Regions from separate parts of the Homo sapiens genome. Here region 2 is linked to region 1. Evidence: promoter capture Hi-C in 16 types of primary human blood cells and fetal thymus (Javierre and others, 2016). All regions are on one chromosome and are shown on one strand. Each heading gives the region's core, a stretch centred on a gene start or on the middle of the fragment in contact. The rest is flanking DNA. Distances are from core to core; before and after follow the strand shown.

Region 1 (6,198 bases), core at 2,640-5,139:
GCTGGTACTTTGCACATGGGAAGACAAAGATGGTCATTGCTGCACTGTTTTAATAGTAAGAAACTGGAATCAGGGACCGATCTGATTGCAAAATTAATAAATGACACTCTTTAAAATAAAAGCTTCATGTAATGGAGACCTCCTGCAAGGGGACTGTCATCATAAATGAGCTCATTGTCCATTTCCCACCTCCTATAACTGTGTTCCTTAACCACCCCCTGCCTCCAGGATCGGGGCGGGGAAGGGGGGTGCCTCCAGCCTGAGCCTGTCTTTAGGTGTGCTGCAATGAGCTAGGTGGCCTGGTGGGTGAGGGTGAGTGGAGTCCGAGAAACATACGGGGTTGCTCCAGCCTTTGACCTTGGAAGGCCTCCTGAGAGCAGGCTCTCCACCACTTCCAGAACAGCCTGCCCATTTGCCCCTCCCAGGCCAACATGGGAAACAGCAGGCCCAGGCTCCACGGTCCTGTACCTGATACAGTTTGTATTCTCCTGCCTCATGTGCACAGCGAGGGATTGGGCAGGCTGCCCTTTGTAAGAAGTGTTCTAAACGCTGAGAGCCCTGGGCTGCCTCTGGCTTGTCCTGGGTCAGAATCCAGGGGCGGACATGTGCATCGTGTGCCCAGGGGTCCTTAGGCAAACTGAAAGCTTGAGGGATCCTGCAAGTGCCTGAACTGTGCTTATTTTTACTTGAGTTCTGATACACAAACACGGTCTGTCCCGCATATGTAATATTCACATATTACATACACAGAAACGGCGTGACATTAACACAGCTAGCCTGTAAGTCACACCTTAGTCTTGCAAATGTGCAGAGGAGCTGGGGGCAAATTACGACATGAGATATTAAATGTGATGTAAATGTGTGATGTATTCTAAATCCTGAGTGTATCCCATGCAGACCGGCTGGTGGTGGTGTCTGGTTCCTCCTTTTAGCCAACACCGCTGATGGCAGTAGGGAGACAGTGCTTTTAGAAAATCTAAGAGCTGTTTGAAAGTATTTGGTTAAGAAGTAACTACTGTTACCTAGTTACAGCTGCCAAATCCAGGGTCACTGGATTGATCTCAATTCCTGACTTTTCCATTGACTTCAGAGTGAGACATTCTTTGCTTTGGCATCTGTAATTTTCGATCCACAAGCATAGCGTGAAAATACTTATGCTTTCTTAGTAGCATTTCAGACACGAATAAGTTAATACTTGTCCTTATCACTTGCGTAGAAAGGAAATCAGTACTATACAAAGTCTGTACTCCCTGAATGTCTTCCTCTGTGCCTGGATTTTTAATATCTTTTTTGTATGTGTTTTAAACATTCTTGTATATAATTAAGCATAACTGTGAGTGTAGGTAAACTATTCATATTCCAGGATTAATTTATGTAACCGTATTACTTTCATTTAAAATATGTTTAAAGCAGATCCCTCTCATTCCTGTGGACCTGCAAAGTGTCCAGTACAGTGACCACCAGCTACATGTGGCTACTCCCACTGAAATGAATTAAAGTGAAATACAATTTAAAATTCGAGCCTTCAGTGGCACTAGCCACACTGCCAGTGCTCAGCAGTCCCAGGTGCCTAACGGCCACCACACTGGACGCAGTGGAGGGAGGCTCTGTCCATCCACTTCCATCACCCACAGATGGAGCTGCTGCTACGGTCTTATACTACTGGATATCTAGTAGTGCCCACATGATAGTACATACTAACTATCTGTCGAATGAATAATACAATAATTAGTTTTAACTTGTCTTAATAATTCTTAAAATGTGACAGTCAAAACGGAAGACGTCCGCTTGTTTTACACAGTTGGATTAGCTGGGGGTTATTCTTCCCTTCTGCCTATTCCCAGCTTTGTTTTTAGGGAACGTGCCACAGATTTTGGATCACACGTTCACAGAATGTATCTGATTATTTCATTCTGGCCAAATCTGTCATATTTGTTTCTCCAAATGAATTATCTAAATATTATTTTACCCAAACTGTTTGCAGTTGGGTAGATGATGTACATGTTAAACCTTCCTGGACGCTGATTTATTTTTTTCAATGTGTTAGTATCAAATTCTAGCAAATTTATTTCTTAAGCAAAGAAATCATTCCCTTTTCAAAGCCTTCTTTTCTTTAAAAAGAAATCAAGCAAGTATCCCAGCATACCATGAGTCAAAGAGGAAACTGGAAACTTCCAGGGCAAAATCTTAGACCCAAGATGAATTCTGCAAGGAAACGTGATGTGAAACTGATCCAGCTATTTGTAGGATTACAATAAATACACCTTTGCCCTCAACTCCACAATTTACTGCCAAGCTGCACAAGACAGGGATACAAAAGGAGCCGGCGGAGACACTGTTAGCGGATCCCTTCACTCCAGAGGCCAGTTTTATCCCAACACAAGGATTCTTTACTGCCTCTGCCCCTGAGTAAACAAACACCTTCCCCCCAAGGACATTTCCCTTTCTCCTGCCCTCTTTGCAAACAACATCTGAATTTGCACGTACTCTCCAGGAAATCAAATGAATGTAACCTATCTAACCAAAGAAACTGAAGAACACGCCATAAATTGAAAGATCGGTTCCTACAGTTCAGTATTTTCTCCAGTAGGCCTTTCTGTAAAAACAAAAAAACACATTTCTCCTGCAGAACCCTTTATAAATATGGTTTTGATGATCACAATTACATTGAGACAGTCTCCTACAACAAGAAACGACTTTTGGATCTGCTCAACAGAAAGAGAATTTTGCAGCTGTGTTCAAGGAAGCAAGAAAAGCAGAGAGTGAATTTTCATGGAGTTAGACTGCGTTGAGACGAATGAAGCTAAGGCTCAGGTCTCTTTCATTACGTGTTTGACTTGTCCTGATTCAAAATCTAAATAACTTAAAGGGTGATTCTTCATGGAATTCGAATCTTAACACCGGAATAAAAGGGTAGCCTGCTGACGACGATCACAGGGAGGACAAGGGGTCACCCCCACTTTCATAACATGGCCTGACCCTTTTCTGCCGCGGACAATTGATCCGAAGGACGCCGGCTGCCCAGCCCTGGCGGGCCACTACTGACCTAGTCCGAAGTTAGGAACAGCCTTGCAAACCGCCCCCTCCCCCTCCATTTCATCAAAATCGGGGAACAAATTCAGAAAAGGTGCAGCTGGTTTTCTCCCTACACGTGCCCTAAAACTCGGGGGCTGGATCCACTTTTCATAGCTGTTTAATAAGAACTCCGGGCAGTTCGTATTACTTCTTTCTCAGAGTGCTTGGTGGTTTAAGTTAAAGCATTTTCCTCTCTCGCCTTTGGGGGAAAAAGCCTCGGCTGCTGGGGTTTGTGGGCCCCTCCCCCGGACTTCGTCTTCCTTTCCTTCCCCAGCCCCCGACCCGTTTTGCTCTCGTCCAAAACAGAGCGACTCCCCCGCTGCCGAGGAAAAGCCAGTTCAAGAAGCCGGGGGAAGGGTGGGGCCCCGCGTGCCCCGGAGCAGCGCCCCTCGAAGGCGGGGGCAGGAAGCAGCCGCCGCGCCCCGTCCCGCTTCCCTCCCTTCGGGCCAGAACAATGGCTTTTTGCCCGGAAAACGGAGTTGGGAGCAAGGGCGGGCGCGCCCCGGGAATCACGCGGGACTCGGTGGGCGCCCCAGGCCCGAAGTCCCTAGGCACCTCCTCCCCCAGCCAGGGGCCCGCCCGCGCCCCCACCCCCGCCCCCGCCCCCGCCCGGGGCCCCGCGCGGGACCCCCCGCCGGAGCGCGAGGCCCAGCCCGCCGCGGACAATGCGCGCCCCGCCCCGCCCCGCACCCGCCCCCCCTCGCTGATTGGCCCGCACGGGATTTGGGCAGCGCGCGGGGGCGGGCGGCGGGCCGGGGCGCGGGCGCGGAGCGGCGGTGCGCGTGCGCGGGGCGGGCCGGCGCCGGGCGGGGGCGGTGCTTTGTGTGCTGCCGGCGGGGCGCGCGGCGGTCCGGGCGGGTGACTGGCGGCGGGCGCCGCGGTCGGGCTGGCTGCCGGGCAGCATGGAGGAGCTGAGCAGCGTGGGCGAGCAGGTCTTCGCCGCCGAGTGCATCCTGAGCAAGCGGCTCCGCAAGGTGCGTGCGGCCCGCCGGGCCCCCCGCCCGCCGCCCGCTGTCCGTCTGGCTCACGGCCCCTCTTCTCTCCCCGCAGGGCAAGCTGGAGTACCTGGTCAAGTGGCGCGGCTGGTCCTCCAAGTGAGTCCCCCGCGACGCCGCGCCCCCCTCCCGCCCCCTCGCCCGGGGGTGGGGACGTGGAGCCCCTCGGCCGCGCCGTCCGGTGGCCTGGGGGCGCCCGCGGGCAGAGCGGGAAGTTCGCGGGGTCCCCGCGGGCTCCTCCGGCTCTGAGGGGGGCGGGGGCCGCCCGGCCCGAGGTTGCCCTTTGTTTACACGCCCGCGGGTGCAGAGCTGGGCGGCCCCCCGCGCCAGAACCTCCTCGGCTGCCGCGCCGCGCTCCCCCCAACCCCCGTCCCGGCCGGGAGGGAGGCGCGGGATGCAAGCCCCCCTCCTCTTGGCCAGATTCTCCCCGCTGTAACCTGAGCTTGCTATTGATGGATGTAGAGTTTCTTTTTTTTTTTCTTTCTTTTAATGGAAGGGAGGGTGTTTGGCATCCCCGGAAGGGGCTCTCTGCACAGCTGCTCCCGCGGCCCCGTTTCTGCGTCTTCCCGGACCCCGCTCTTTCTTCGCTACCCCTCGAGGTGCCCCGGCCCGCGCGCCACATTGTTCTGGATCTCGGGCTGGGCGCCTGTGCCCCTCCCTGCATGCTGGACCTGCCTTCCCTTCCTCCTCTGGCTCCGGGCCAGGGTTTGGGGGAATCCCTCTCTGCAACTTTGCGTTTTATGGGGGTTTGTTTTTCTCCCAGGCAGAGACTGTGGGAGTCCTCTTGTGGCCTTGTTTTAATTGGGGGGTTGGAGCGGCAGTTTCCCTTTGGGTCTGAGGTTAGAGTGCTGGCTTGGTGGGGGGTGGCCAGCCTCCAAAACCTGGGTTTGGACTTTGAGAAGTGCCATGGTGCTACGGTGCCACTGCCATCGGCCCAAGTCGAGGAGCGGTGAGGGCGAGCCCCCTCGGGCTGCCTTGCAAAGCGGTGATCATCAGCCTGGCGTCTAATGCTGCCCTGTCCTCTGCTTTGCAGACATAACAGCTGGGAGCCGGAGGAGAACATCCTGGACCCGAGGCTGCTCCTGGCCTTCCAGAAGAAGTGAGGACGCTGACAGCACTGGGGAGGGTGTGGGGGAGGGACGGTGGCTGGTTGGAGTCGTGCTGGGCGCTGCTCGCCTGCCGGGAGGCTGGAGCTGGGGCTGTGGTCTGAGGTCCCTTAGCAAGATTGTGTCCAGGGCCATCTCTGTGGCTGGCTGTAAAAGTCCCCAGCCAGCCCCTCTCCCACCTTCTCCTAGCCAGCCTGTATCCATCCCTGAGAAGAACCTAAGTAAGTGCTGCTTTGGTGTTTCCGACAGCCATACTTGCAAAAACCAACTTTTTCAGTTGCTTCAGATAAAGATGTTATAGCTTCTCTTGGCCTTTTCTGCTGAGTAATTTGCACATGGCGCTAACAGAAAACCAGGAGAGCAGGTTTGCCACAGTGACGCAGGTCTGCCCTTCCAGCCCTGCACGCGTGTGCCATCAGGCAAGAAGGCTCAGAGAGGGAGCTGGAACACACAGCACGCAGTTGTGCCTATTGTGATGTCTCTCTCAAGAAAGAAACATTTATTTTGCTCTGGCCTGCAGCATACAGTACCAAGTAGCACCATGAGGCCGGATTGGGCCAGACTTGTTTCTGTAATTCTAGATGTCATTTCTATTTTTAGGTAGGAAGTTTAGGTTAAGAGATAGGCCTCCTTGAGATGTTCAAGGGCAAGGGGTGGTGAGGAGAGGGCAGTGGATGTGCCCACCTGGCATGAAGGGCCAGGGAGTACTGTTCAAGCAATGGCAAGATGGGGGGTGGTTTCACTGACGGCTCCCCCTGGATCCCCTGGCTGGACTTGCCCTGTGGATAGAGGCAGAAGAATTGGTTGCTGGAGTCTTTCCCAGCCAGGGTCAATCTGGACGGTTTGTTCTCTGGTAGCAAAAGGTGCATTCCCTTTTTTCCACTGTAGCGGGACATATTGGGTCTTCCCAGAGGGGTCATGATAATGGGGAAATAGAGTTTTCTGGTGGGGCGAGCAAAAAGAAGAGCCTGTGCTTGCTTAAATCCCTTTGGAAAATCGTAACAGCAACCCATCGTCTTCTG
Region 2 (6,046 bases), core at 974-3,473, 98 kb after region 1:
GCCATCTGTATATTCTCTTTGGTGAAATGTCACCATTGAATTTGAAGCGAGTTTCTTGTAAACAGTGTATGGTTAGGTTGTTTTTCAAAAAATAGACTGCCAATCTCTTGCTTTTTACTTGGTGTATTTCATTTACCTTTAAAGAAAATTATCAATATGTTAGGACTTAGGTCTGCCATTTAAGGATTTGTTTTCTCTGTGTATGTTTTCTTGCTTTTCTGTGGATTCCTTGAACATTAGGATTGAGGTTCATCTTGGTTGATTTATAGTCATCTAGAGGGCGTTTCTTTGTATCACTTCCCTAGTGGTCGCTCTGGTTATTACAAGGTACACGGGTAGCATTTTACCACCTGCAGTGAATGTGGAAGCCTTACTTCCATGTAGGTTCTTTAACCTGTCCCCCTTTTATTTTCATTTTATGTTATTTTTGAGACAGGGTCTCACTTTGTTGCCCAGGCTGGAGTGCAGTGGCACAATCACGGCTCACCGCAGCCTCAACCTCCTGTTCTTAAGTGATCTTCCTGCCTCAGCTGCCTGAGTAACCAGGACTACAGGCACATGTCACCACACCTGGCCTATTGATTGATTGATTGATTGTAGAGATGGGGTCTCACTATGTTGCCTGGGCTGGTCTTTAACACCTGGGCTCAAAGGATTCTCATGCTTCAGCCTCCCAAAGTGCTGGGATTACAGGCGTGGGCCACTGCACCCCCCACCACACCTTTTTAAATATCATTGTCTTGAATATCAGACAGTGTTAGAATTTTTGCTTCAATCATTAAATTTGATTTATAAAGCTCATGAGAAGGATCATCTATTGCAGATTCCCATACACTTGTTCTTTCCATTATTTTTTCCTTCTTAATGCTCCAAGATTCCATTTTATTTTATTTTATTTTATTTATTATTATTTGAAATAGAGTCTCTCTCCGTCGCCCAGGCTGGAGTGCAGTGGCGTGATCTCGGCTCGCTGCAGCCTCCGCCTCCCGGGTTCCAGCACTTCTCCTGACTCAGCCTCCCGAGTAGCTGGCATTACAGGCATGTGCCACCATGCCCGGCTAATTTTTGTATTTTTAGTAGAGACAGGGTTTCACCATGTTGGCCAGGCTGGTCTTGAACTCCTGACCTCAGGTGATCCAGCCACCTCAGCATCCCAAAGTGCTAGGATTACAGGCATGAGCCACCACGCCCAGCCCATTTTATTTTAAAAATCATTTTCTTTCTTTGTGAAAAAACTTCCTTTAGCTGTTCTTTAAGGGCAGGTCTGCTAGCAACAAATTCGTTCAGAAAAAAAATAGATTTTCTATTTTTTCATTTGTTTCAAGAGAACTTGTAATTGCCACTGAAATATTTTTAAGCCGCTTTAAAATCTCAGAATGTCTTTATTTCCCCTTCATTCCTGAAGGATGGTTTTGCCAGACATGATTCGCTGTTGGCAATTCTTTGTTTGCAGCACTTGCAAACACTCACCTTCACCTGGTCTCCGTGGTTTCTGATGAGGAATCTATGGTTTGAGTGGGTGTTCCCCTACAGGGAATGTATCATTTTGTTCTGGCAGCTTTCAACATATTTTTTTTCTTTAGTTTTCAGAAGTTTAATTATCAGGTGTCTCAGCATGGATTTCTTTGGGTAACTATCTGGGACTTGCTCAGCTTCTTGAATGTGTAGATTTGTCATTTGGCAAATTTCAGAAGTTTTAAGCCACTCGTTCTTTTAATACTCTTTCAGCCTCATTTTTTTTTTTTTTTTTTTTTTTTTTTTGAGTCAGATTCTCGCTCTGTCGCCCATGCTGGAGTGCAGTGGCGCCATCTCAGCTCACTGCAAGCTCTGCCTCCTGGTTTCAAGTGATTCTGCTGCCTTAGCGTCCGAGTAGCTGGGATTACAGGCACATGCCACCTCGCCTGGCTAATTTTTGTATTTTTAGTAGAGACGGGGTTTCATCATGTTGGCCAGGCTGGTTTAGAACTCCTGACCTCAGGTGATCCACCCGCCTCAGCCTCCCAAAGTGCTGGGATTACAGGCGTGAGCCACCACACCAGGCCTCAGCCTCTTTCTTTTTCTCCCCTATTTCTGGGTAACTCCAATAATATGTATGTTGGATCTTTTGTTCTATCGTTCCACAGATGCCTGAGGTACTGTTCTTTTTCTCCCCACACCAGTATACTTTCTGTTGTTCAGTTTGGGTAAATTCTATCCATCTGTTCTGAAGTTCGCTAATTCTGTCCTCTATGATCCCATTCTACCATGGAGACTGTTCATTTCTGTTATTGTATTTTTCAGTGCTGTAATTTATATCCTGTTCTTGCTGATAACTATTTGCTGAGATTTTCTATTTTTTCATGTTTCAAGATAACTTAGAATTGCTTGCTAAAGCATTTTTATGCTGCTCTGAAGTCCTGGCCAGATTTTTCCTACATCTGATTTATCCCGGTGTTGGCATTGGTTGGTTGTCTTTTCTCATTCAACCTGTGGCCTTTTCAGGCCTTGGTATGATGGGCGAGTTTTTTTTTTTATTGTGTCCTGGACATTTAAGCTGTTACATTAGGAGGCTCTGGGCTCTCGTCAAATCTTTTGGCCAGCGCGGTGGCTCACACTTGTAATCTGAGCACTTTGGGAGGCTGAGGCAGAAGGATTGCTTGAGCCCAGGAGTTCAAGACTAGTCTGAGCAACATAGTGAGACTCCCGTCTCTACAAAAAATTTAAAAAATTAGCCAGGCGTGGTGGCATATATCTGTAGTCCCAGCTACTCAGGAGGCTGAGCTGGGAGGATCACTTGAGCCTGGGAGGTCGAGGCTGTAGTGAGCTGTGATCGTGCCACTGCACTCCAGCTTGGGCCACAGAGTGAGACCCTGTCTCTAAAATAATAATAATAAATAAAATAAAATAAAATAAATCTTTTATTTTAGTAGGCAGCCACTCTGCTTAGGTTTAGCATGCCGGTCCTGCCCTACTGTTACTGGCTGTGGTTTCCATGACAACCTAATTAGCAGAACCTTTTTGGTGTTAGTTTGGTCGGCGTGGTTAATCTGGTGCCATCGGGGCTGCTACTGGTTCCTGCTGGTTCTTCTTAAGGTGGCAGAAGGAGTGTCTGTGGGTGCTTCTAGGTGGGTGAAGGGAGCCGCAGCCCACAGGGACAAAGAAGACAAAGGTTCCTCCTGCAGGTGACCCCTGCCCCTGGCATCTCTTGGTGGGGGAGGGGAGGTTTCTCTGGCCAAGTCTCAGTAGCGGGGTGATGGGGCCCCTGCTTGTTCCTTTGCTGGTGCCACTAGCTTACCACATGTTGTGGACGGGACTCCTGTTTAATCTGGGGACACAGAGGACCCTATCTGGCTTGTCTGTTTTTGCTGGGCCTGGGTTCCCTTCCTCCACGAGGTGGAGGGCCGTGGCGCTCTGCCTCACTGGGGCTCCTCCAGTCCGGGGGCTCTCACCTGTCGACTGTCTTCCATCCACCTCTGCGTTCTCCTTGGGTTGTCTCTTGTGTTATTTCCAGGGCTTATGGTTGTACTTTGAGAGGGGAGGAGCAGGAAGAAATGAGCCTAGATCATCTTGTCTGGAATGCAGGTTCTGTTTTATTTTTTAAGAGGGGCCATATGGAAGTAAGTTTGGAAGCCAGTGGGAAGGACCTGGTGGAAGGAAGGCTGAAGATGCAGCCAGAGAAGAGAAACTGAGGACATAATGCTCTCCCGGGGCCAGGGCTGGGCTCATTGCTCCATCACCAGCACCTCCTACAGTGCCTATGGGAGCTGCATACGTGGTTCCGGAGTGGAATTGACCCTGAGCTTGCGGGTAGAGGTTCCTCCTGTGAGGGCATAAGAGGGAAGGAGAGTGGGTTTGATGATGGTCCGGGGGGAGGAGGATGGGGAAGGTCTCCTGATGGCTGACACATCCTGATGCTGACAAAGCCATGAAAAGTGAGGGGTGCTGGGCCTGGGGAACTCTGTGAACACAGGGGTTAAATGACAGAGTGAATCCAGGCACAGAATGGTGCCCATACCCACCCCAACGTCATTGCCTGGGAGCTGACATCACCTGCACCTGCCAGGCTGACACCAGCGCTCCCCAGCCCCAGGGCCTCCTGTAATCAAGGCCTTAGGAGTGGAGCCTCAGAAGCAGGAGGAGAAATCAATTCTCTTCCACGCGCCAAAAGCTGCTCATTCAAAACACCCCAAAGACACATCAGGTGGGAGGCACCTGCACTGAGGCTCCTGGAAGCTACTGCAGCAGGACGTGGGAGCAAGGCCCGGCTCCATTTGTCCCCTGCTGGTACAGCCATTTCATGGGTGGGGAGGGTGGAGACCAGGTGTGCTGGCCAGGGATTCCAGGGCGTGGGGTGCAGGGTCCCCTGCGTTTCCTCATATGGATGTCAGAAGTGGAAGAGAACGTCATAGCAGGCCAAGTGGGGTCCAACCCTTTCCAAGGTCTGGATCAGCTGTGCTGTGCACCCACAGCCCTCTGCCTGCCCTCTGCTCCACACCTACCCCTCCAGGCCCTGATTTTCCCGCTGGACTGTGCCCGGGAACATGTCGTTCTCTCTATTGTATGGGTGTGTGTGTGAGAGAAAGATGCACATATTTGGGTATATACATGATGTGTGAGGCATGTATATGTGTGTATCATGTTTAATTTTCTCAATATTCAAAAAGCCCACAAATTTGATAAGAAACAGATAAACAACTCAACAGAAAAATAGGCATAAATATAAACAAGTAATTCATAGAAAAGGAAATTCACATAGTCAATTGCACTTAAAATATATGCAAACCCTAGTAAAATATGACATTATTTAAAGATACAGATACGATGACCAACATTGGTTCTAGTGAGCAAACATGAAGCAATGTTTAGCCTCATCAAAAGGAAAATGCAAATTAAGGCCATGAAGTGATACATTGTTCGCCCTTTAGGTTGCTAAAATTTAATAAAAGCTCTAAGATTCACTGAGGCAAAAAACCTGGGGGAAATAGACATGGACATGCTTGGTGGAAATGTGAATGCAATTACTTCCTGGGAAAGTACTCTGGCAATATCTACTAAAATGAAAATAATACACATAAGCTTTGACCCAGTGATTCCACTCTGGGGAACCTCTTCTTTAGAAACAAAAACAACGGGGTATGAAAATAGATGTAAAAGAATTGCTTTTCCAGCTGGGTGCGGTGGCTCATGCCTGTAATTCCAGCATTTTGGGAGGCTGAGGCAGGTGGATCACCTGAGGTCAGGAGTTCGAGACCAGCTAGGCCAACATGGTGAAACCCTGTTTCTACTAAAAATACAAAATTAGCTGGGCATGGTGTCACACACCTGTAATCCCAGCTACTCAGGAGGCTGAGGCAGGAGAATCACTTGAGCCCAGGAGGCGGAGGTTACAGTGAGCTGATATGGCCCCACTGCACTCCAGCCTGGTCAACAGAGTGAGACTCCACCTCAAAAAAAAAAAAAAAAAAAAGAATGCTTTTTCGGCACTGTCTATGGTGGTGAAACCAAAGCAAAACAAAAAAAATAAAGAAATTGGAAGTAATTTGTGAATGCACATCTTTATAAGTATATAATTGTAGCATATTTAGGGCAGCCACAGTGGTTGACACCTGTAATCCCAGCACTTTGGGAGGCCAAGGCAGAATGATTACTTGAGCCCAGGAGTTCAAGACAAGCTTGGGCAACATAATGCGATCCCATCTCTATAAATAATTTTAAAAATTAGCCAGCCATTGGCCAGGCATGGTGGCTCATGTCTGTAATCCCAGCAGTTTGGGAGGGCAAGGCAGGTGGATCACCTGAGGCCAGGAGTTCGAGACTAGCCTGGCCAACATGGTGAAACCCCTTCTCCACTAAAAATACAAAAATCAGCTGGTTGTGGTTTAGGATACAGGCCCGTGCCTGTAATCCTAGCTACTCGGGAGACTGAGGCAGGAGAATCGCTTGAACTAGGGAAGTGGAGGTTGAGCCAAGATTGTGCCACTGCACTCCAGCCTGGGTGATAGAGCAAGACTTTTTCTAAAAAAAGAAACCAAAAACATTAGCCAGGCATGGTGGCATATGCCTGTGA

The links. Contacts are between HindIII fragments. The CHiCAGO score rates a contact against its expected background, and 5 or more counts as called.
Region 2: a contact is called between a fragment that was not itself captured here and the fragment with the promoter of CBX2 in region 1, in 1 of 17 cell types (monocytes). The highest score is 5.7, in monocytes.

Annotation. Positions count from the first base shown.
Region 1 is chr17:79,774,259-79,780,456 of GRCh38, forward strand. CBX2 (chromobox 2) reads left to right here and starts at 3,890. Exons shown (of 5, transcript NM_005189.3): 1 at 3,890-4,049; 2 at 4,126-4,169; 3 at 5,104-5,169. The coding sequence starts at 3,978. RefSeq lists silencers at 3,695-4,074, 4,085-4,154 and an enhancer at 4,550-5,143. The HindIII fragment of the contact is 13,003 bases long and covers 643-6,198 here.
Region 2 is chr17:79,874,252-79,880,297 of GRCh38, forward strand. No RefSeq gene overlaps it. Among named protein-coding and RNA genes, the nearest start is that of CBX4, 38 kb to the left of the region's middle. The HindIII fragment of the contact is 5,659 bases long and covers 1-5,053 here.